Regions from separate parts of the Homo sapiens genome. Here regions 1, 2, 3, 5, 6 and 7 are each linked to region 4. Evidence: promoter capture Hi-C in 16 types of primary human blood cells and fetal thymus (Javierre and others, 2016). All regions are on one chromosome and are shown on one strand. Each heading gives the region's core, a stretch centred on a gene start or on the middle of the fragment in contact. The rest is flanking DNA. Distances are from core to core; before and after follow the strand shown. Region 1 has its middle 24 kb from the start of SELENOP. Region 2 overlaps GHR (growth hormone receptor). Region 3 overlaps CCDC152 (coiled-coil domain containing 152). Region 4 holds the start of RIMOC1 (RAB7A interacting MON1-CCZ1 complex subunit 1). Region 5 overlaps CCDC152 (coiled-coil domain containing 152). Region 6 overlaps GHR (growth hormone receptor). Region 7 has its middle 73 kb from the start of SELENOP.

The links. The method cuts DNA at HindIII sites, captures the fragments that hold promoters and counts their contacts. A CHiCAGO score of 5 or more calls a contact.
Region 1: a fragment that was not itself captured here is called in contact with the fragment with the promoter of RIMOC1 in region 4 in 1 of 17 cell types (M1 macrophages); the score reaches 5.8 in M1 macrophages.
Region 2: a contact is called between a fragment that was not itself captured here and the fragment with the promoter of RIMOC1 in region 4, in 1 of 17 cell types (naive B cells). The highest score is 5.8, in naive B cells.
Region 3: a contact is called between a fragment that was not itself captured here and the fragment with the promoter of RIMOC1 in region 4, in 1 of 17 cell types (M0 macrophages). The highest score is 5.3, in M0 macrophages.
Region 5: a contact is called between a fragment that was not itself captured here and the fragment with the promoter of RIMOC1 in region 4, in 3 of 17 cell types (M1 macrophages, M0 macrophages and monocytes). The highest score is 8.0, in M1 macrophages.
Region 6: a contact is called between a fragment that was not itself captured here and the fragment with the promoter of RIMOC1 in region 4, in 1 of 17 cell types (naive B cells). The highest score is 6.8, in naive B cells.
Region 7: a contact is called between a fragment that was not itself captured here and the fragment with the promoter of RIMOC1 in region 4, in 4 of 17 cell types (neutrophils, M1 macrophages, M0 macrophages and 1 more). The highest score is 8.0, in neutrophils.

Annotation. Positions count from the first base shown.
Region 1 is chr5:42,834,488-42,837,453 of GRCh38, forward strand. No RefSeq gene overlaps it. Among named protein-coding and RNA genes, the nearest start is that of SELENOP, 24 kb to the left of the region's middle. The HindIII fragment of the contact is 5,346 bases long and covers 1-2,966 here.
Region 2 is chr5:42,657,832-42,661,094 of GRCh38, forward strand. All of the region lies in intron 3 of GHR (growth hormone receptor), which reads left to right. Among named protein-coding and RNA genes, the nearest start is that of CCDC152, 97 kb to the right of the region's middle. The HindIII fragment of the contact is 4,825 bases long and covers 1-3,263 here.
Region 3 is chr5:42,801,441-42,804,557 of GRCh38, forward strand. It overlaps CCDC152 (coiled-coil domain containing 152), which reads left to right. Exons shown (of 9, transcript NM_001134848.2): 9 at 1-999. The region is part of intron 4 of SELENOP (selenoprotein P); the gene reads right to left. Among named protein-coding and RNA genes, the nearest start is that of SELENOP, 8.9 kb to the right of the region's middle. RefSeq lists enhancers at 2,292-2,792, 2,793-3,117. The HindIII fragment of the contact is 1,850 bases long and covers 679-2,528 here.
Region 4 is chr5:41,902,783-41,906,178 of GRCh38, forward strand. It overlaps RIMOC1 (RAB7A interacting MON1-CCZ1 complex subunit 1), which reads left to right and starts at 1,562. Exons shown (of 6, transcript NM_175921.6): 1 at 1,562-1,685. The coding sequence starts at 1,586. RefSeq lists enhancers at 995-1,134, 1,246-1,792, 1,545-1,664. The HindIII fragment of the contact is 10,560 bases long and covers 1-3,396 here.
Region 5 is chr5:42,778,218-42,781,303 of GRCh38, forward strand. CCDC152 (coiled-coil domain containing 152) reads left to right here. Exons shown (of 9, transcript NM_001134848.2): 5 at 1,241-1,305. Among named protein-coding and RNA genes, the nearest start is that of CCDC152, 23 kb to the left of the region's middle. The HindIII fragment of the contact is 5,271 bases long and covers 1-3,086 here.
Region 6 is chr5:42,635,073-42,638,451 of GRCh38, forward strand. The region is part of intron 3 of GHR (growth hormone receptor); the gene reads left to right. Among named protein-coding and RNA genes, the nearest start is that of CCDC152, 120 kb to the right of the region's middle. The HindIII fragment of the contact is 5,633 bases long and covers 1-3,379 here.
Region 7 is chr5:42,882,974-42,886,272 of GRCh38, forward strand. No RefSeq gene overlaps it. Among named protein-coding and RNA genes, the nearest start is that of SELENOP, 73 kb to the left of the region's middle. The HindIII fragment of the contact is 4,310 bases long and covers 1-3,299 here.

The DNA.
Region 1 (2,966 bases), core at 293-2,792, 930 kb after region 4:
AGGGTCGTTTGATTATGAGGTGAGATGGTCACATGGGGATGAAGTAAGTCTTTAACGTAACATTGGTATGCAGAAGTACAGTATACAGAGATAAGAATTTACAATATAGTGTGTGCATCAACAATTTCTAACAGAGCCTTAAAACAGAAACACAGTCTCTCCATAACCTATGATTAGCAAGATATTAATCAGCAGTAACAGTTGCAGCAAAAGCTGGTTGCAAACAATCAATAGAAACAGGATGTGAAGCTAGACAACCAGTTAGACCAGAAATTCTCAGAAGGGAGTATGCCTTAACCTTAAAGAGGCCTAGAAGAGCTGTGGCAAAATAAGGACGTTTATAGCCCTATCTTATCCATATGAACAGGCGCCCCTCATGCATCTGCTTATAGGCTCTCCACAAGAATCACATTCCATTCCCAGAGCTATGAACATCTGCTTTTCTGGGATAGGAATCCTGGTTATGTGAAACCTCCCTGACTGCACGTCCGTTTATAGGCTCTCTGCACGGGGAAGCACATTACGCGCTGTTGGCTCATTCTGGCAGCCCAACCTGGCATTGTCTTTACACAATCCTGCATGCAATTTTGTACGTACAATAATCAGGAGCATTTCATCTTTTACTCCATAGCAATAGTTTCAGGGGGTCTCCCTACAATTGATCGTTAGAGAAATACAAATCAAAACCACAATGAGTTACCATTTCACACCAGTCAGAATATCTATTATTAAAATGTCAAAAAATAACAGATGCCAGCAAGGTTGCAAAGAGAAGGGAACCCTTATACACTGTCAGTGGGTGCATAAATTAATTCAACTACTGTGGAAAGACGTATAGTGATTCCTCAAAGAACTAAAAACAGAACTGTCACTGGACCCAGACATTTTATTACTAGGTATATACCCACAGAAATATAAATCATTCTATCATAAAGACACATGCACATGAATGTTCATTGCAGCACTATTCACAATAGCAAAGACATGAAACCAACCTAAATGCCCATCAATGACAGATTGGATAAAGAGAATGTAGTACATATACACCATGGAATACTATGTAGCCATAAAAAAGAACAAGATTGTCTTTTGCGGGAACATGGATGGAGCTGGAGGCCATTATCCTTGGCAAACTAATGCAGGAAAAGAAAACAAAATACTGTATATTGTCACTTGTAAGTGGAAGAGAACACATAAACATATAGAAAAGAACAGCAGACATTGGAGCCTACCAGAGGGTGGGGGGAGGAAGAGGATCAGAAAAAAAATAACTATTGGGTACTAGGCTTAGTACCTGAGTGATGAAATAATTTGTACAACAAACCTCTGTGACACAAGTTTACCTATATAACAAACCTGTATGTGTACTCTGAACCTAAAATACAAGTTTTTCTAAAAAAAAAAAAGGAAGCCCAATCAACGGAATGAAAATAAAAGAGCAGCAGGAGCAAGGGTTTGAATCTTTCTGAGACCTTTTAAAATTAAAGTAATAGTTACACAATCAACTTTTGGGTTTATATCCAGCCCAGAGTTGAGGCCCCAGGAACCATGTTCCAGGGGATTATAGCTGACTTCCTGGGAAAAAAAAATAATACTAAGTGCAGCAAGAAAAAAAAGCAGATTGAAAGTGGGACTGTGGAAGCCTGGTTCTAAGAATACACCCAATGATTCCTTCCTCCTGATATCCATATCCTTGTGTAATCACTTTGAGAGGTGACAACATGCTAGTAGCCCTCACTCGCTCTCAGCACCTCCTCAGCCTCGGCATCCACTCTGGCCATGCTTGAGGAGTCCTTCAGTCTGCCACTGCACTATGGGAGCCCTTCTCTGGGCTGGCAGAGGCCACAGCTGGCTCCCTCTGCTTGTGGGGAGGTGTGGAGGGAGATGGCGCAGGCGGGAACCAGGGCTGCCTGCGGCACTCACGGGCCAGCACGAGTTCCTGGTGGGCGCGGGCTCAGCAGGCCCCGCACTCCTAGTGGCCGGCCGGTGCCAGCCACCCTGGGCAGTGAGGGGCTTAGCACCTGGGTCAGCAGCTGCAGAGGGTGCGCCGGGTTCCCCAGCAGTGCCGGCCTGCTGGCGCCATGCTCGAATTCTTGCCAGGCCTCAGCCACCTCTCATTGGGGCAGGGCTCGGGACCTGCAGCCCACCATGCCCAAGCACCCCCCCAGCCCTGTGGGCTCCCATGCGGCCCGAGCCTCCCCCTTGGGCGCTGCCCCCTGCTCCACGGCACCCAGTCCCATCGACCACCCAAGAGATGAGGAGTGCGGGTGCACAGCGCAGTACTGGCAGGCAGCTCTGCCTGCGGCCCTGGCACAGGATCTCCTAGGCAAAGCCAGCTGGGCTCCTGAGTGGGGTGGAGACTGGGAGAACTTTTATGGCTAGCTAGAGGATTGTAAATGAACCAATCAGCACTATGTGTCTAGCTAAAGATTTGTAAACACACTAATCAGTGCTCTGTGTCTAGCTAATCTAGTGGGGACTTGGAGAACTTTTGTGTCTAGCTAAAGGATTGTAAATGCGCCAATCAGCACTCTGTGTCTAGCTCAAGGTTTGTAAACGCACCAATCAGCACCCTGTCAAAAGGGACCAATCAGCTCTCTGTAAAACGGACCAGTCAGCTCTCTGTAAAATGGACCAATCAGCAGGATGTGGGTGGGGTCAGATAAGGGAATAAAAGCAGGCTGCCCAAGCCAACAGCGGCAACCCACTGGGGTCCCCTTCCACACTGTGGTAGCTTTGTTCTTTTGCTGTTTGCAATAAATCTTGCTGCTGCCCACTCTTTGGGTCCACACTGCCTTTATGAGCTGTAAAACTCACCACGAAGGTCTGCAGCTTCACTCCTGAGGCCAGTGAGACCATGAACCCACCAGGAGGAATGAACAACTCTGGCTGGGATGAACAAACTTCAGATGGGAGGAATGAACAACTCCAGATGTGCCACTTTAAGAGCTGTAACACACCGCTAA
Region 2 (3,263 bases), core at 11-2,510, 750 kb after region 4:
GCTGGCCTCAAACTCCTGAGCTCAAGTGATCCTCCCACCTAATAGTAGCTGGGTATTCTTCTGAGTAGGTGGTCCTAAAATGTTTTATTTTCAGCTTATTTCATAGGTATAAGTCTTATTTTCCCAACCAGGCTGAAAACTTTTCAGAATCAGGACTTGTCTTTAGTTTCTCATTTTTTATGAGGGGATGTGGCATTATTGCTTAGGGAATTCAGATATTTCTGATAATAAAGATGCTTTTCTGTTTGTTCATATAAATTAGGGTAAAAGAGGAAGTACAAAACTATCTCAAATCAAGTACAGGACTCTTAATTATTACTAGCTATCTAACAGCTCATAGAAACCGATAAGTTTCTGAACCTAATGCCAAAAAAAAGCAACCTTACCATAAAAAGAAAATCCAAATAAAACTGAAAGAGGCAGTGGGCAGTGCTACCTATGGGAAGAAAACTTTGAAGTGGGAAAAATCTGGATTCACATCCCAGCTTTGCTACTTATTACCTTTGTGTTTTGGCTAAAAATTATCTAACTTTCCTGAAGTTAAGTTTCCTTCTCTGTAAAATGAGGGTTATAATAATATATACAGCATACTCCACAGAAGAGTTGTGAAGATGGAATGAGAAAGCAAATGGCAAAAACTTAGCACAAAGTAGGAGCTCAATCAATCATGGTTAAAAAGAACTTTTATCCATTGTTATTTTTGCTTATATACAGTAAGAATTATCCAATGCAAATGTAATCAGAGCATCTGCAATTGAGCTTTATAAAGTGAATTATAATTCTCATACCATAGTGGTTCTCATCAAGGGTGATTTTTTTCCCCCCAGGGGACATTTGGCAATGTCTAGAGACATTTTACTTGTCACACTGGAAAAGAGGGGGTGCTACTGGCATCTAGTAGGTAGAGAGTAGGAATGATGATAAGCATTCTCTAATGCACAGGACAGCATTCCACAGCAACAAATGATCTGATCCAAAATACCAATAGTGTGGAAGTTGAGAAACCCTACCATAAAGCCTAGGGAGTCCATTACTTCTGACCTAAATTTGTTTTATATTTAAGAGTGGATGTGGATTAAAAGTAGCTTCCATTTTGGTAGGTTATGAAGAGAGTTGTCTAATCTGTGCTTTAGATTCTAATTTTGAGGCATATTTTTAGGCTAAGGCATTGCAATATATAAGGCTTTCTAAGTTTCAGACATTTTCTTGGAGGTCAACAAATGAAGGCTTGGGGATCTATTAACCCACTAGAGTAGTGTAATAATGGTGGTGGTTGTTTATTGAAGACTAACCAAGTGCCAAGTACTCTATAATAATCTGATTTATTTTTCAGCAACTGTATAAGCAGGTATTTTGCTCTCATTTTACACAGGGGAAAACTGGAGCTTAGAGAACTTATGTAACATTACTAGCAAGTTGCACAGCTGGGATTCAAACTGAAATCCAGCTAGCTTCAAAGACTGTGTTCTTTCTGCTGCTGCATACTACCCCTACCTACCAAGGCTCTGAGATTAGAAAGCAGGATGGGTGTGTTTTAAAGGAAATAAGGTAGGAAAGTTTTCAAATATTAGAAACTCTGCACAAGAAGATTAGGTCAAGTTTCCCACTGAGGGGCCCTTGAGTATCTATGAACTCGATGAAAACTCTGAGCTTCTCAGGAAGGTAGACCAAAGGGAAAGGATTCATCAAAATGGATGTTAGCACTATGCCATGTGTATTACTCCATCCTCACACGGCCAAAAGGACATACCTGAGACTGGGTAATTTGTAAGGAAAAAGAGGTTTAAAAAAGTTCTCTTCGATGGCCAAATAGGAACAGCTCCGGTCTACAGCTCCCAGCGTGAGCGACACAGAAGACGGGTGATTTCTGCATTTCCATCTGAGCTACTGCATTCATCTCACTAGGGAGTGCCAGACAGTGGGCCCGGGACAGTGGGTGCAGCACACTTTGCAGGAGCCGAAGCAGGGTGAGGCATTGCCTCACTCAGGAAGCGCAAGGGGACAGGGAGTTCCCTTTCCGAGTCAAAGAAAGGGGTGACAGATGGCACCTGGAAAATCGGGTCACTCCCACCCTAATACTGCGCTTTTCTGACGGGCTTAAAAAACGGCGCACCAGGAGATTATATCCCGCACCTGGCTCGGAGGGTCCTACGCCCACGGAGTCTCGCTGATTGCTAGCACAGCAGTCTGAGATCAAACTGCAAGGTGGCAGCAAGGCTGGGGGAGGGGCGCCAGGCATTGCCCAGGTTTGCTTAGGTAAACAAAGCAGGCGGGAATCTCGAACTGGGTGGAGCCCACAACAGCTCAAGGAGGCCTGCCTGCCTCTGTAGACTCCACCTCTGGGGGCAGGGTACAGACAAACAAAAAGACAGCAGTAACCTCTGCAGACTTAAATGTCCCTGTCTGACAGCTTTGAAGAGAGCAGTGGTTCTCCCAGCATGCAGCTGGAGATCTGAGAACAGGCAGACTGCCTCCTCAAGTGGGTCCCTGACCCCTGACCCCTGAGCAGCCTAACTGGGAGACACCCCTCAGTAGGGGCAGACTGACACCTCACACGGCCAGGTACTCCTCTGAGACAAAACTTCCAGAGGAACGATCAGGCAGCAGCATTCAAGGTTCATGAAAATCCGCTGTTCTGCAGCCACCGCTGCTGGTACCCAGGAAAACAGGGTCTGGAGTGGACCTCTAGCAAACTCCAACAGACCTGCAGCTGAGGGTCCTGTCTGTTAGAAGGAAAACTAACAAACAGAAAGGACATCCACACCAAAAACCCATCTGTACATCACCATCATCAAAGACCAAAAGTAGATAAAACCACAAAGATGGGGAAAAAACAGAGCAGAAAAACTGGAAACTCTGAAAAGCAGAGCACCTCTCCTCCTCCAAAGGAACGCAGTTCCTCACCAGCAACGGAACAAAGCTGGACGGAGAATGACTTTGACGAGCTGAGAGAAGACTTCAGACGATCAAATTACTCCGAGCTACAGGAGGAAATTGAAACCAAAGGCAAAGAAGTTGAAAACTCTGAAAAAAATTTAGAAGAATGTATAACTAGAATAACCAATACAGAGAAGTGCTTAAAGGAGCTGATGGAGCTGAAAACCAAGGCTCAAGAACTACATGAAGAATGCAGAAGCCTCAGGAGCCGATGCGATCAGCTGGTAGAAATGGTATCAGTGATGGAATATGAAATGAATGAAATGAAGTGAGAAGGGAAGTTTAGAGAAAAAAGAATAAAAAGAAACAAAGCCTCCAAGAAATAT
Region 3 (3,117 bases), core at 354-2,853, 900 kb after region 4:
CGAGCTGGCTTTGTATTATATTAATGAGAAAGAGTCTGATGTTAGTCTCAACACCTAGACATTTTATTAAAGGCTTAAAAAGAAAGCCAAACCACTGTACTTATATTTGCAGAAGCAAATGAAGTAAACTGGCAAAAGGAACTTGGATTGCAGGAAAGTCAAAGTAATATCAAATCCTAAATTCAGTTGATCTGGGCCGAGCATGGTGGCTCATGCCTGTAATCCCACCACTTTGGGTGGCCGAGGGGGGCAGATTACTTGGGCTCAGGAGTCGGAGACCAGCCTGGGCAACATGGCGAGATCCTGTCTCTGCAAAATATACAAAAATTAGCTGGGTGTGGTGTCAGATGCCTGTAGTCCCAGCTACTTGTGAGGCTGAGGTGGGAGGATCGTTTGAGCCTGCAAGATGGAGGTTGCAGTGAGCTCAGATGGTGCCACTGCACTCCAGCCTGGGTGACAGAGTCAGACCCTATCTCAAAAAAATAAAAAATAAATAAAAAATCAGTTGAACTATATGGAAACTTCTGTACCTGTGTCAACGGTGCATCTTATCTAATACTATATGATACTGTAATCTAATATTATCTCTGATAATTCAAAAATGCTAATAAACTCTGCTCAAATGTGTTAGTTTTTCATACTTCATCCTATGCCAGGAAATGTTTTGAACTTCACCAAAGCTTTGCTAATGTCTCCCTACCATAAGGCTGTCAGCTGAAAATAGCAAATTACTGCCCGACTCCCATTGACCATAATATCCATTCCGCATGATCCTAGTTCTTTAATTTACTGGAAGTCTTTACTGTTTTGTGGTACCTACTAATCAGAGACTCAAAGCCTATAGATACAGAAATGTAACAGTAAATCTCAACCTAAGGCTAATTTGCAAATAAAATTACAAAATCAACTTAGAACCCAAAGACTCACTAAGTGATATGCTTTTGATGTTTTGAAGGTTTTAAAAGGTTATAAATTCCATTAAATTTTAGCATACAACTACTAAGTGGTACTTTATTTGGTTATTTCTGAATTACTTCTACATTAGAAGCTAATAATGTTTGCTTACAAACTTATAAAGAATTTGATACATGTTTAAAATATACTGTGTAATGTTCAAAGTGTTCAAGGTTTAAACAAACACAAATACCTATGGTAGTAGTCTAATTTCTTTCATTTATTTATTTATTTAGTGACGGAGTCTCACTCTTTCGCCAGGCTGGAGTGCAGTGGCACGACCTCGACTCACTGCAACTTCCGCCTCCTAGGTTCAAGTGATTCTCCTGCCCCAGCCTCCCAAGCAGCTGGGATTGCAGACACGTGCCACCACGCCCAGCTAATTTTTGTATTTTTAGTAGAGATGGGGTTTCACCATGTTGGCCAGGATGGTCTCGATCTATTGACCTCGTGATTCATCCACCTCGGCCTCCCAAAGTGCTGGGATTACAGGCGTGGGCCACCGCACCCTGCCAGTAGTCTAATTTCAGAAACGAATTACTATATTTTACTGATTATGTGATGCATATTTCTTTAGATTTTAATATCTCTAAAATTAGAATGTACCATACTGTTGGTGGTGGTTTCTCACTGTATCCTACTTTAATTAGCAGCATTTTTTTTTCCTAAATACTACATAAGATAATATGTCAAATAATCAGTGGTATCTAGGAGACAATGAAATAGAAAAACTCCAATCGGATTTGGCATATCAGATACTAATAGTGTCTGATCTGTAATTTGTATTTACAGATGATTCACACATTTTAAGCATATTGTGGTAACTATTAACTGCCTTTTTCAATATAACTGGGTATATTTATAACTAGCAAGCATTTGCACAAATGAGAAATGCAGAAATAATCCCAAAATATGAGGAATCATTATAATTAGTATTTATTAAATGCTTAGTATAGGTTGAGTTAGTACTTTTCTTTCATTACTCTTAGTATTTTCTTCCATTACCTCAGTCTCCTCATCTTTAAAAATAGTAAAATAACCCTCAAAAGATCATTATAAAGATTAAAATGTGAAAATTACATAACTAGAGTAAGTAACTTATACTCCTTAACAACTAAATTAATTAATTAAATTCGTTAAAAATTTGAGGCGGCTTTCTTTAGACCTGGGGAAAATCTGAAGGAAATACAACTTACAGATAAAATTGTGAATTGTTTTTAAACCTAAGTTCAAATTTTCCCAATCTGACTTCTCAATGGAACATTGTTTAGAATTATTTTCCTTTTTGTTATGAAGGAAAACAAGTCTAGTTAATACAAATTAAATTCTTTGAGTGCCTTTTTTATTTAAAAAAGATTTAAATATAGTTCTTCTCATAACAAAGAAGAAATATTTTCATGGTTGTTAGGAAATAAATACCAGTAATGAGTAGAAAACTTACTCCATTTTGAAGTAAACTCAGACTGCAGATGGGCAGGCAGTGGAAGGGCTTCAGGAAAAATCTGATAGCCTTGCATCTTCAATAAATTAAGTAGTTTCTGGCCCCAGTTCCATTCCAAGTAATGCTGTGGGTAAGCTTTGCTATTTTTATGTTCTTGTGCTAACATGTTCAGGTTACTACAATAACATTGCTTTTTTGTGTTGACTAAATTTTTTGAGCACTTATGCCCATGCAACGTCATTTGGTGGTAACTGAAATACGATACATTGATTTTTAATTTCTAAAGCTCTTCTAGATAAAGGCAGCAACATCGATCTTCAAAAGATGTTTTAAACTAGAGGTTAGGCCGGGCGCGGTGGCTCACGCCTGTAATCCCAGCACTTTGGGAGGCCGAGGCGGGCGTATCACAAGGGCTGGAGATCGAGACCATCCTGGCTAACACAGTGAAACCCCGTCTCTACTAAAAATACAAAAAATTAGCTGGGAGTAGTGGCGGACGCCTGTAGTCCTAGCTACTCGGGAGACTGAGGCAGGAGAATGGCGTGAACCCGGGAGGCGGAGCTTGCAGTGAGCCGAGATCGCGCCACTGCACTCCAGCCTCGGCGACAGAGACAGACTCCGTCTCAAAAATAATAGTAATAGTAATAAATAAATAAATAAAGTAGAGGTTAGATGACAGGATGTTTGTTTAATTGTAAAAATTATTGTTATTTATTTTTAGT
Region 4 (3,396 bases), core at 312-2,811:
TCAAAGGTTAATTATTTTTTGAAAATTATTTTTTGAAAAGTTTAGTAAAATCTTCTGAAGGCTTCATTTAGTTCTACATCTTGTAGAAGATTCAGAAGGCATCAGGTGTAACCTTCTGCTCTTTTCTCTATCCATTGCTGGCTCCCTACTTTCATTTTGAATTTATCCCTATTTCCCTATTTTTCCCCCTTTGTGTACAGATACGATCATTCTCCACCCTACCTTCCAGCACTTGCCCCTCTTCAACTACCACCTTCTCCATCCCTTGTTGAGAAAGCCTTCTCTCAACTTCTTGTTTATACTTAGATTCTTTTTTTCCTCACCTACAATTCCCACACTATTGAATAATTGTCTACTCCCACAGACCACATCATATCCCCTTGCCATCTTGCTTGTTGACAAGAGTGCATATGTGCCAGGCACTGTATGAGGCACCAAGGACACAAAATACATGATTCCTGTCCTCTATATTTAGGGTGAATTGTCAGAAGAAACTGGTATTACAAAGGTCAGTTAGAGAGTCATTGTGGTCAATCACTTATAAATCACAATACACTTTTTCTCTATTTTTAGTATTTTTCTATTACATATAAAAAACTACCTTCCATGAGAAACAATAGGATGGAGATTATTCAAGATATAGTGTGTCAAACTGAGAAATGAATACACAGAGTTAACGATTTGTTTGACCAGAGGCAAGAAAGCATTCACAGAATGCAAAGTGAAGTTAGACTTGCTGACTGAGTGCTTTGAAACTCCCGATTGAGAGGATGAACCTCATGCACAATTAGCGCCTTAAGGGAAGGTCTTGAGATGAAAGAAAAATGAAAATAGTTTTGTGGCCGCAGAATTTACTACCACTGGACGCAAGATGTCTAAAGTACTTTAAATGTGAACTCCAAGGGAGGTCAGAGATAAATTCGACTGCTAAAAATCAGATTTACAAAAGCAATATTCAACCATGTAGACTGGCAACTCCACTAGTGTTTGGAGCTCCCCATCCAGATGTACAACAAACTCTTGGAGACTTGGATGTGTTACACAGGGGGCCGGTCGGGTTTCCATTTAGGACCAGGAGATTATAATCACTTTATTTTAGCAACCTCCTTACTACAAGGCCAAAACTGACAGTCCTCTCTCCAGACCCTCGCGTCCGCCCTCCAGACTGTGCTTCCCGCGCCGGACAGGGAAGTGGGAGTGCGGACGACAATCCGCATCCTGCCAGCCAGACGTCACCAAGCTGTCTTCCAAGAGGCAGGCGGAGAGAGCTGACTTCCGATTGGGTCAGCCGAGGGGCACGGCTGGCTCCCTATTGGCTTACAGGAGGGGGCTAGAGAGAGGCGTGTCTCAACGTCACACCCGCCCCTAGTCTCCTTGCTGCTCAGGATTATGGGAGGGAAGGGAAGTCCAGGAGGGAAAAATGACCCGGAAAGACCTTTGCCGGCCTGGGCCAGCCCTCTTCCGGAGCTGATGTCTCCTCCCACCAACCAGGAGAGGTCCGCCCTAGGCCCCGCCCGTGCCGGGGGATCAGGTGATTGCGGGCCAACACGGTCACGTGACCGGGGCGCACCCGCCGATTGTGGCCATGGCGGCCGCAGTCTCTAGTGTGGTGAGACGAGTGGAAGAGCTCGGGGATCTGGCTCAGGCCCACATACAGCAACTTAGCGAAGCTGCCGGTGAAGATGGTGAGGGAGCGGAGGAGAGGGAGGCGGGCGGGGCAGACGGCGCTAAGGTACTGGCGCTCGATGGCTGTGAGGGCTAGAGGCTGAGGCCTGTGTTCCTTTGGGTCCCAGGCCGCAGGTGGTTACCCGAGGTCTGTCGCTTCTGAGCCCCTCTGCGCCATCGATTGCCCACTTCCCAGAACTCACAATGCCAAGGCGTTGTCTTCGAAAACCGCATTATTCAGAACCCATGGAAAATCTGTCTAGATCCGTGCTGGTGTAAACTGTCTCGGTAGCGATTGGAAGAAGGGCAGAATCTAAATAAAATACAGAAGTTTAAATAAATGGCTAAGATGAATGATAACACTCAAATTAGTTATGGTGGTTTGCATCCTGTAAAGATAAAAAGACATGTATAACAGTTCCACTTTTTCATTGCTGCGTTGTAATTTGCGTTTTACGTTTTGGATTCAAAACAACATTCTATAGAAGAGCTTTACATTGGTGTGTAGACTATTCTGCCCCATACATCATGCCAGTTCTCACAAGGGCTCTGTTAAGTATTGGCATACTTGTTTTGGAAAGGTCTAAGCTGTTAGGAAAAACTGGGCTAGGGAATTGCCTCAACCTTCTGAATTTAAGTCCAATTCTTTTCATTACGTCTCAGCTGCCTTTAGGTTCTACATTATTCCTTTTTGAGTTTGAGCAATTACTACAGATAGTTTTTAAAATTCTGTGGACTGACTCATATCATCGGACTCATAGGAAAACAGTGGTGGAACATTTTCTTAAGCGATTGAATAGTTGGTGAATTTGTTATTAAATAGGGTCTATGATGAAATGCCTTAGTTTCAGTGAATATTTTTTGCCAGATTATCATTTATCAGGAGTGTTTTGTTTTGTTTTGTTTTTAGAGGCAGAGTATCATTCTGTTGCTCAGGCTGGAGCCCCTCTAGTAGTGGGACAACAGGCGCACACCATCTCGCCCGGCTAACTTTGGCATATTTTGTAGAAACGGGGTTCACCATGTCATCCAGGTTGGTCCTGAACTCCTGGGCTCAAGCATTCCACCCGCTTTGGCTTCCCAAAGTGCTGGGATTACAGGCGTGAGCCACTGTGCCAGGCCAGGAGTGTGTTCTTTAAAGACCTACAGACCACCCTGAAGCCGACTTATATTTTGGTCTGTGGATTCACATGAATAATTCTTGGGTAGTAGGAGCTATTAACTTGAAAGTTATCTATGTTACCTCTAATTCCAGATTCACTTGAACCAGTCCAAAGAGACCAAAGAATGTTTTTTATTCACTTATCACTGAACTAAAAAGCCATTCTCATTTCCCTTGGAAGAGTTCTTTAATCTGGAATGAATCAGAGCTGGAAATAAAAGTCATGTGCTATATATGGAATTCTTGTTTGAAGGCTTTATACTTCTGAAAATTTACTAAAATAAAATGACAATGTTAGTGGTCCACATTATGAGCCGTTGATCAGCATGGAAATCAGTTCAATCTTAAAAATATTACAAGATTTATGAACTTTAATTAAAACAAGATTTCATGTACTTGAATTGAATTTGGCATTATTTTTCCACGCAACAAGAATAATATACATTCAAACTTTGTTCTTTAATGTAATGAGTATATATTTATACTAGGATATAAGGGTTTGATGATTTCCATTGTCTTCTTCAGATTAGATGAGATACAGCCAGACATTATTTCATCTAAGAATGCGT
Region 5 (3,086 bases), core at 149-2,648, 880 kb after region 4:
GCCAAATGTTGGAGTGAGTCCAGACTGCATATATTTGCTACAACCACCTAAAGGACTGGAACCTCGAAGTTAAATAGAGAATTTTTTACCTCTCCTCATTTCCTGTCTCCACCCCCCAAGAGATGACCCAGAGGAAAGACAGGGAAGAGCAACTAAGGAGGAAACTAAGACTTCTTTCCCACTTCTATTGACTCTTTACAGCCACTGATCTAGCCAGTGATAAGGATCATGAAAACTTTCAATCAAATAGGAAATTACAGTTTTAAACCGACCTGGATGTTTAGTAATCAAAATTAACCACAGGGTTTTTAAAATTTGTTAAAAATATTAAGGTATTGTTTTCAGTTACCCAAACCAAAAACCTAAAAAGAAAAGGCTCCCCCTTTCTCTTTTGCCTCCTCTATCTAAAGGGTCACTAAATTCCTAGGTAATTCTATCATCTAAATAATAATTCTCCTCATTGCTTCCTTTTTTCCATACTGCCGCTGACGTAATTTAGGTTCCTGTTATCTCTTACTTGACCTATAGTTACTGATCTCCATTCCTCTAGGGTCAAAACCCTCTCATTCATCATCCACATTGCCAGATAATCGTTTTAGCATGTAACTCTCATTATTTCACTTCTGCACTATTCAAAATTCTTTGATGACTCCCTGTAACCTCTAAAACCAAAATCCAAAATTGTTCATCTAGAATATGTAGAATATGTCTACCTAGTGATAGGATCCCAACCTATATAGCATCTCCTGCTCACACTTTACACTTCAACAATACCGTACGTGAATTGTAGTTTTTCCAAGCTATATTCACTCAAGCCCATGGTCTTCTGTGCGATTTTCTGCATTTAGAATGCTCTCTCTTAACATGGGGTAAGCCTATCACTTAAATCTCGTCTCAAGTAGCTTCTCTTCTCTAAATCCTTTCCTGACTTCAAGCTGCCCTAGGTTTTCTTTTTACAGGTTCCTGTAGTATTTCAGATATACTGCCATTAAAGAGCAATTATCATAGCATATTATAACTACTAACACATTTGACTCAGCACTAGGCTGTAAGTTCTTTGAAGAGCAGTAACTCTTTTCACTTTCATATTCTCAGTGTCTAGCATGGTGCCTGAAGTGTAGCAGCTGCTGGATGCATGTTTGTTGAATGCATACATAATGGAAGCTAAAATGTTGAACATATTTTCATATTAATTGAAAAGTGCTATATATTATGATGTTCTTTGATTATTCTTACACAGGTGAAAATGAACAACTAAAAATAAGTGCTGATCTTATAAAAGAGAAGTTAAAGTCTCATGAACAGGTGAGTTTATGTATCATTCTATTCAGTCAAGTCCCTGTGGAGATTTATCTTTTCAAATTAGGAAAAAAAAAGAGGTTTTTAAATTAATAAACACAGCCAAATGTTTGTGGGTGTGTGTGTGTGTGGAGATATACGTATATATGCCAAAATCTTTAGTAAATGACAATTTGTTTTCAAAGCAATACTAGTTTTAAGAGTTTTTTTTTTTTACAAAATATAATGTACTAACAAATAACTTGCATTACTTTTTCTTTCTACCAAAAAGAGATGCAGTTATTTTGCTACATAATTTTCAATTATGTTAATAGAGGTTTTACTCTAGTAAACTCTATTTGTTACTACTTGTGAACTTTCTTATTATAATGTAAATGAATCTATACTCTTTATGATTTGGGTAATCATTACACCATTCCAATACAGGGGGCATTTCATGTGGATCACAAATTATTTCTCTCCCAGGAGCCACCATACCCTCTGCTACTTTTCCTTATCTCCTGTAGGAACAGTGTAGTGACAGCAGTTGTAGAACACATGAACAGCGTGTAAAAAGCATAAAAGATGCTAAATAAATGTCAGTTCCCTCTGCTCTTTGAGAGGTTCATTATGCTAACTTCCTCATCTCTCAAGAGCTAATATGTCAAATTCTAGCAGACAAAAGATCCTCAAAACTCAAGTTGAATCTATAGGAGCTTTCAACTTGAAGAATCTTCTCTAAATTCAGTCTGGTTCCTCATCTGAGGACCCTCTGAAGAAATCTGCCCAGAACTTCTGGTTAATCCTGTACAGTAATAAGTAGCATTCTGGCTATGCTCTTAGAAAATTTAGCTTTTCATCACCAATTTTGAGATGGTTTTTAAGTATTTCTGAAATGAATCCTACCCTTTCTCCCCCTTTCTTTTCCTTTTTCCCTTTATTCTTTCCCAATCCTTTTAATATATTGACTCTAGATCTCAAAAATAGATGGTAAAGTCAGGTTGTAATTGGGGTGGGGAACCAGGGGGAGAAAATTTGACCTGCTTTCCTTTCTAAAACTTCAAGCACTAGGATACTGCTTTGTTGAGAATACTACAGGAATGTTCAGAGGGGAAGAAATTAAAGAGAAAACACCACAACCCAAGAGTCTGAATTTCTTACTTAGGGGCTGCCCAAAGCAAACTATGACAACGCAGATTTGCTAATTCAAAACCTCTGAACACATCTAAAATTCATGGAGAAAACTCCCCAGGAACAAACTCAGGAGGTACCCAATAGCAGTATTTGTGAGAGTAGAAGGATTTTGCAACTTGTATAGAGAGAATCATTGTTTTTTATATCAAGAGTGAAACTGGAGGCTATTCCTTGGAATTTAAAATTCCCAGAAAGCATATGAAAAGAAGACAACCAATTGTAACCTATTGGGGATTAGTCTCCTTAGAAAAATGAAAAGATTACATTTTTTAGGAATGGCACAGGCTAAAGTGGAAGAGAAGATCTAGTGGGATAGAACTTGGCTCAACCCAGATAGAATAGTCTTCATGCCTGGAGGCTGAAATGCAAATCCTGGGTCTCACCGAATTAACTGGCAGCATTCCACTTTCCTGGTGACATCTTCCTGTGGCAAAAATCAGTGGAGAATAGAAAGGTACATAGGTTTGTCTCTTGTGGTTTCTCAGAGCAGCAACAGCTTAGTGCACACAGTTGTCAGGAGTAGTTTATAAAAGCTGCTCTGTAGTTGCCCATCTAGAAATCTAGATATATAGAAAATGGCAATTTGTGGGATTGCCAGCTGGGTTCACCTGCCC
Region 6 (3,379 bases), core at 740-3,239, 730 kb after region 4:
GGAAGCTGACATTAAATTATTGACAGTCTACTTGTTTATAAACTATTCAATAAACAATTTAGTAAGTAAACATAGATTCTTGCAATCCCTTTTAAGGAAACAGTGTTTATGTTGGCTCTCTCTTGTACCCAACCTAGTGCTCAGCCTTTCCTGACTCACATAAGCACTAATCTCCAGATAACACCAAGCACCCTAGGGTTATTATTTATCCCCCTTCCTTGTTCTCTGAAATAAGAGAAAGGCAGGTTAAATTATGCACTTTATGTAAGAAGAAATGGAGGTACAGAGAAAACAGCTTAAGTCTCTTAACAGCCCAAGAGAGTGAAGAAGATATTGCCAATGCAATGAGTTGTATCTGTCCCTAGGTAAGTAAAATATTAATTAAAGCATACAACTATATTAATAATTAAAACAACAGTCTTTACTTATATGGACTTTGCAGTGACTTTTTTCCAGCCTGAAATACTCAGATAATGACTGCCATTAGTTTCACACGTTAGTGCTTTATTATATACTGCTTTGTTTTCACACAAAATCGTTGAGAGGTAAGAATTTTTTGAAAGAAATATTTGGTCTTAACTTTTTTATCCCCCTTCAACTTCAAGCAATTTTCTGAGCAATGATAAGTGGTAAGTAGATATTTACCACTTAGTTTACAAGAGACCTGTTTCTCTCTGTGCATTGACTTAGGCACTATTAATGAAACCTTTGGAATGCAGGTCCCTTCTGGTTGTAAACATATACTGAGGTCTTCTATTTCTTTTGGAACTCAAACAATAAGAAAATAGTTAGAAATCTGTTTGTGGGCATAGGTCTCTAAAAGCCTTAATCTTAGAAGTGAGTAAAAAAAATTTTAGGCCAGACGCGGTGGCTCATGCCTGTAATCCCAGCACTTTGGGAGGCCGAGGTGGGCGGATCACGAGGTCAGGAGATGGAGACCATCATGGCTAACACAGTGAAATCCCGTCTCTACTAAAAATACAAAAAATTAGCCGGGCGTGGTGGCGGGCGCCTGTAGTCCCAGCTACTTGGGAGGCTGAGGCAGGAGAATGGCGTGAACCCGGGAGGCGGAGCTTGCAGTGAGCCGAGATCTCACCACTGGACTCCAGCCTGGGCGACAGAGCGAGACCCCGTTTCAAAAAAAAAAAAAAAAAAAAAAAATTAGAGCCTAAGAAGGATGATTAAGCATCTTACTTAAATTTTCAGTATGCCTATGTACACTCTATATACTGACTTCTAGCATGGTTTCTTTGCCAAAGCATAACACACATTTTTTAAAGGGATAATTCAAGACAAACATTCTTTCACCCTGGGTGACCCCAATGGGTGGTGAACACTTTTTAGTAACTCTTGAAAGTTAAAGCATCCAACAGTTGGTTGTGACCTTTTTGGTTGTGACCTTTGAGTTCTTCTAGCTTGTAGCCCACTGATTTGCTGCTTAATTCCACAGCTTCAAAACCAACTCTAATCACTGCTCCCGAGAGAGCCCTAGCTTCTGCACACATGAGTCTCTCACCAGGAAAGGATACCTGAAGTCCAGAAAAGCCCTTTGTTCACACTGGCTCCTCCTAGTGGGGAACAGTTTTTTTAAATAATGTACATTTATGCACTGGGAAAATATCTTGAATTTATTATTTAGGTGTAACCAGACTTTAATACAACTTAACCTACACACTGAGAAAGCAGACATTTACAAAAAGATTTATGGCTTTGACAAAGCGTTCAAATGTAGTTACCATTAAATAGTAGTTCAAGTAATTGTGTGTCTCATGGCAAATACATGCAATATAAGGTAATATATATTTAAGCCAAAAATAACAAGAGGTGATCATTTGCTAAACAAAGAACTTATTACTTAGGAAAAAATGTTACACAACTTTCAAAGGACTTTTGAAAATATAGTATGATTTATAGGAAATTTATTTGCATATAATTCACAATATCTGGTACAAGGTAAGCTACCTCTGTGTTTTTTTTCTTTAGGTCAACAAATATTTAAACCAAGGGTTGGCAAACAGGCCCTCAGACCAGATGCTTGTTTTTGTAAATAAAGTTTTATTGGACCACACCCATGCCTGTTTGTTTCAGATTGTGTTTACTTTAGGGCTACAGTGGCAGAGTGGAGTAGCTAAGACACAGAGCATAGGTCCACAAACCTAAAATATTTACTCTCTGGCCCTCTAAAAAAAAGTATGCCAAACCATTCTAAACAGCAAAGCAATTAATTCTTTTTTTTCAACTCTTATTTTAGATTTAGGGGGTACACGTGCAGGTTTGTTACATGGGTCAATTGCATGTCTCTGAGGTTTGGTGTACAAATAATCCCCTTACCCAGGTATTGAGCATATTACTTGATGTTTTTCAACTCACACCCCGCTCCCAATCTTCACCACTCTAGTAGTCCCCTGTGTCTACTGTTGCCATCTTTATACCCATGTTTATCCAGTGTTTAGCTCCTGCTTATAAGTAAGAACATATGGTATTTCGTTTTCTGTTCCTGCGTTAATTCACTTATGATGATGACTTCCACATACATCCATGTTGCTGCAAAGGACATGATTTTGTTCTTTTTTATGGCTGCATAGCTTTTCATGGTATACGTGTACCACATTTTCTTTATCCAGTCCACCATCAATGCGCATCTAGGTTGATTTTATGTTTTTGCTGTTATGAATAGTCCTGTGATGAATATATGAGTGCGTGTGTCCTTTTTGTAGAATGATTTATTTTTCTTTGGGTATCTACCCAGTTATGGGATTGCTAGGTTGAATGGTAGTTCTGTTTTAATTTCCTTGAGAAATCTCCACACTGTTTTCCACAGTGGCTGAACTAATTTACATTCCCACCAGCAGCTATAATATGGTTGTTTGTTTGTTTGTTTGTTTGAGACGGAGTCTCGCTTTGTCGCCTGGGCTGGAGTGCAGTGGTGCGATTTCGGCTCACTGCACTCTCCGCCTCCCAGGTTCAAGCAATTTGCCTGCCTCAGCCTCCTGAGTAGCTGGGATTACAGTCGTGCACCACCACGCCCGGCAAATTTTTTTTATTTTTAGTAGAGACGGGATTTCACCGTGTTGGTCAGGCTGGTCTCGAACTCCTGACCTCGTGATCTGCCCCCCTCAGCATCCCAAATACTATACTGCCCCCTCAGTATAATATAGTATTTTAAGGAACTAATCATCAAGTTTGTACTGGTTACCCTCTTTTAGTCTCCTGTTATCTTCAATTTCATAATTGGCATTAATGACAATACAGTGTTCACTTTATAAATTTGCTTCATAGTAAACTCTTCTGAAATAAATTACAGTCATGCATCACTTAACAGTGGGGATAGGTTCTAAGAAATGCATAATTAGGTAATTTCATCATTGTGTAAACATGA
Region 7 (3,299 bases), core at 428-2,927, 980 kb after region 4:
ATGTCCTTTGGCTAAATTAACCTCTTATCATTACATAATGACCTTCTTTGTTTCATTTTACACTTTTTGACTTAAAATTTATTTTACCTGTTCTAAGTATAGCTATTCCTGCTTTCTCTTGGTTTCCATTTATATCACTTTCATTCTATGTGTTGTATTCTTACAGATGAAGTGAGTCTCTTGTAGGCAGGTTATGATTGGGTGTTTTTTTTTATTCATTCAGCCACTCTATGACTTTTGATGGAAGAATTTAATTCTTTTAAACTCAAGATAATTATTGATAGATAAGGATTTGCTATTGCCATTTTTTAAATAGTTTTCTGATTGTTTTGTAGAACCTTTGTTTTTTTCTTCTCTTGTTGGTCTTTCTTTGTGATTAAGAAATTTCCTCCAGTGTTATGCTTATATGTTTTGATTTCTTTTTTAAAAAAATCCTTTTTTACTTACTATAGGTTTTTGCTTTGTGGTTACCATGAGCACCATGAGGCTTACAAAAAAATCTTATAATGGTGATAAGCTGATAACTTGACTTTGATAGCATTAAAAAAACTCTACACTTCTACTCCACCTCTCCCTACATTTATAATATTTGATGTCACAATTTCCCAGTTTTTATTCATGAGGTAAATTTCAGCCACCTCTTTTAAAATGGGAAAAGAAGAGAAGAAGTATAAAACCTGTACACCAAAATTAAAACTCTAAGCCCCCACCGCACCCCACCGCCAACCATCTGAATGGGCCCCTCCTCTAGGCCAGGGCACTCCAAAGTTAACCTGAAAAGCTGATTTAGGCCATGGTGGGAAGTGGGGTCAGACATGGCTCATTATACCCTCTTCCCTTTTAGAATTCAGGAAAACCCAGCCAGCGTTTAATATCAACACAGATCTTAAGTGTGATGAGAAACGTTTATAATCTGTTATCTCTGAAGCCTGCTACCTGGAGGCTTCATCTGCAAGATAAAACTTTGGTCTCCACAACACTTTATCATAACCCAGACATTTCTTTTTATTGATAATAACTATTTCAATCAATTGCCAATCAGAAAAATTTTAAATCTACCTATAACCTGAAACCCCTCTCCCCCTCACGGTCCCCTGCTTCAAATTGTCCTGCCTTTCTGGACCAAACTAATTTACATCTTAAATGTGGTTAATTGATGTCTCATGTTTCCCAAAATGTATACAACTAGGCTGTGCTTTGACCACCTTGGGCACATGTCCTCAGTATCTCCTGAGGGCTGTGTCGCAGGCCACTGATCACTCATGTTTGAATCAAAATAAATCTCAAATATTTCAGAGTTTCACTCTTTTTGTTTACATCAGGATAGGTCAGTTCATGTTAACTTACTTTCCTGGTGGGATGGTGTTGAAGAGAGCCTGAGAACTTCTCAAAAACAAGGAAGAAAAGGTAACAGCAGACAAAAAAAGACAGACTAGCATCAATACGTTCTCCCTTGTTATCCCCATCTTGAGAAGGGGGCACATGGATTTGCCCTTTGATCTTGCACTCTCACCTAGAACACAACCACACTGGCCTATTACACTCCATAGACCTCAAACCACACTAATCCACTATTTACATTCACTTTCACCAGTTACCAGGGGAAAATAGCACATGTGGGGTTACAAAGGCTACATGATTGGGCTACCCAATTAGAACTTCACTGTGAAACTTCAGGACAAAATGCAGATCTGAAGATCATCCCAAAATGCCCAATAATGTTGGCTATGCTGACCCCAGCTGCTGGACTCCATTCCTTCTATGCAAGCTAAGTTCTCAGGCAAAAGTCTCTTGGAGTGTTTCTGCAGGGAGCAGAGAGCAAACTCTGCCCTCCAAGTTCTGTATCTTTGCCCTTAAAACTCAGCTCTCTGAAGGGAACCATATAATATTTCTGTAATATCTCTCATAAGCAAGTAAAGATCCCTCCTTAGACTCCCTTAATTCACCTCCAACTACTGCTTTGTTCCTCAGCAACCCTTTAGAGAAAAACCTCTAAATAGAGTTGTCTGTTCTTACTGTCTTCACTTCCTTGGCTCTCATTGTGGTTTCAGCACACACTGATTGAGTGTTCACCCCTCTCACTCCCCTGAACTTGGCCTTCTCCAGACACCAGTGATCTCCATCTTAATTTACCTGTAACCATCATTGTAGCAGGTTATCACCTCCTTCCCCTTGAAAATTCTTCAGATCTCACTGGACATCTCCATTCTGCCTCTATTGATGACTCCTTTACTTCTTCCAACATTTTACCTCAGTCTTCAACACTCTTGTCTATCTACTCCCCTCTCCTTGAGTGGTCTCACTCAGTTCCATGGCTTTAAATACATTTAGATATTGAATCTCAAACCTACATCTTTACATTGGCTTAAATCTCCAGCTGCCTACTTGACATCTATGCTTGGTGAACCCTAGTCAGCCTCTCCACACTTCCTTGTTTCAATAAATGGCCCCAATATTCACCTAGTTTTTCAGACTCAAGGCATAGGAGATATTTTTACTCTTTTCTTTACACCACACCTCCAACTCATCAGAAACTTCCATTTATTCCACCTTCAAAATTTATTTCAAACTTCACCACTGTTTACCACTTTCACTGCTGCTATCTATACCAAAGAAACCATCTTTGTTCACCTAAATCCCTGCGGTAGGCTTGCACCTGGACTCCCTGATTCCTTTTATACTCTTAAGTGGTCAGGTCTCCAGATAGCAACTAGAATGATCTGCCTAAAACATAAATCAGATAATGCCTCACCCCTGCCTCAAAGTCCTACATAACACTTTGGATTTTGGTTGTTGTTTTTGTTTTGTTTTTTGAGATAGGGTCTTGCTCTGTCACACAGGATGGAGTACAGTAGCATAATCACAGCTTACTGCAGCCTCGACCTCCTGGCTCAAGCAGTCCTCCTGCCTCAGCAACCTGAGTAGCTGGGACTACAAGTGTGCAACGTCAAGCCAGGCTAATTTTTTATTTTTCGTAGACATGGGAGTCTCACTACATTGCCGAGGCTGTCCTCCAACTCCTAGGTCCAAGCAATACTCCTGCCTTGACCTCCCAAAGTTTTGTGTTTACAAGAGTGAGCCACCATAATAGGCTTCCCATAATACTTTGAATGAAACCCAAACTCCTTACCATGTCCTATAAGGTCTAAAATAACTGGCTTTTGCCTATTTCTCCAGTTTCACCTCTTTTTATTTTCTGGCTCACTTCTGCCAGTTTGACCAAATTGACCTTCTTCCTTTTCCTACAGCAGATCAAGCTCATTCTGTGCTGGATTGTCACTCTGTCCAGAATGCCCTTC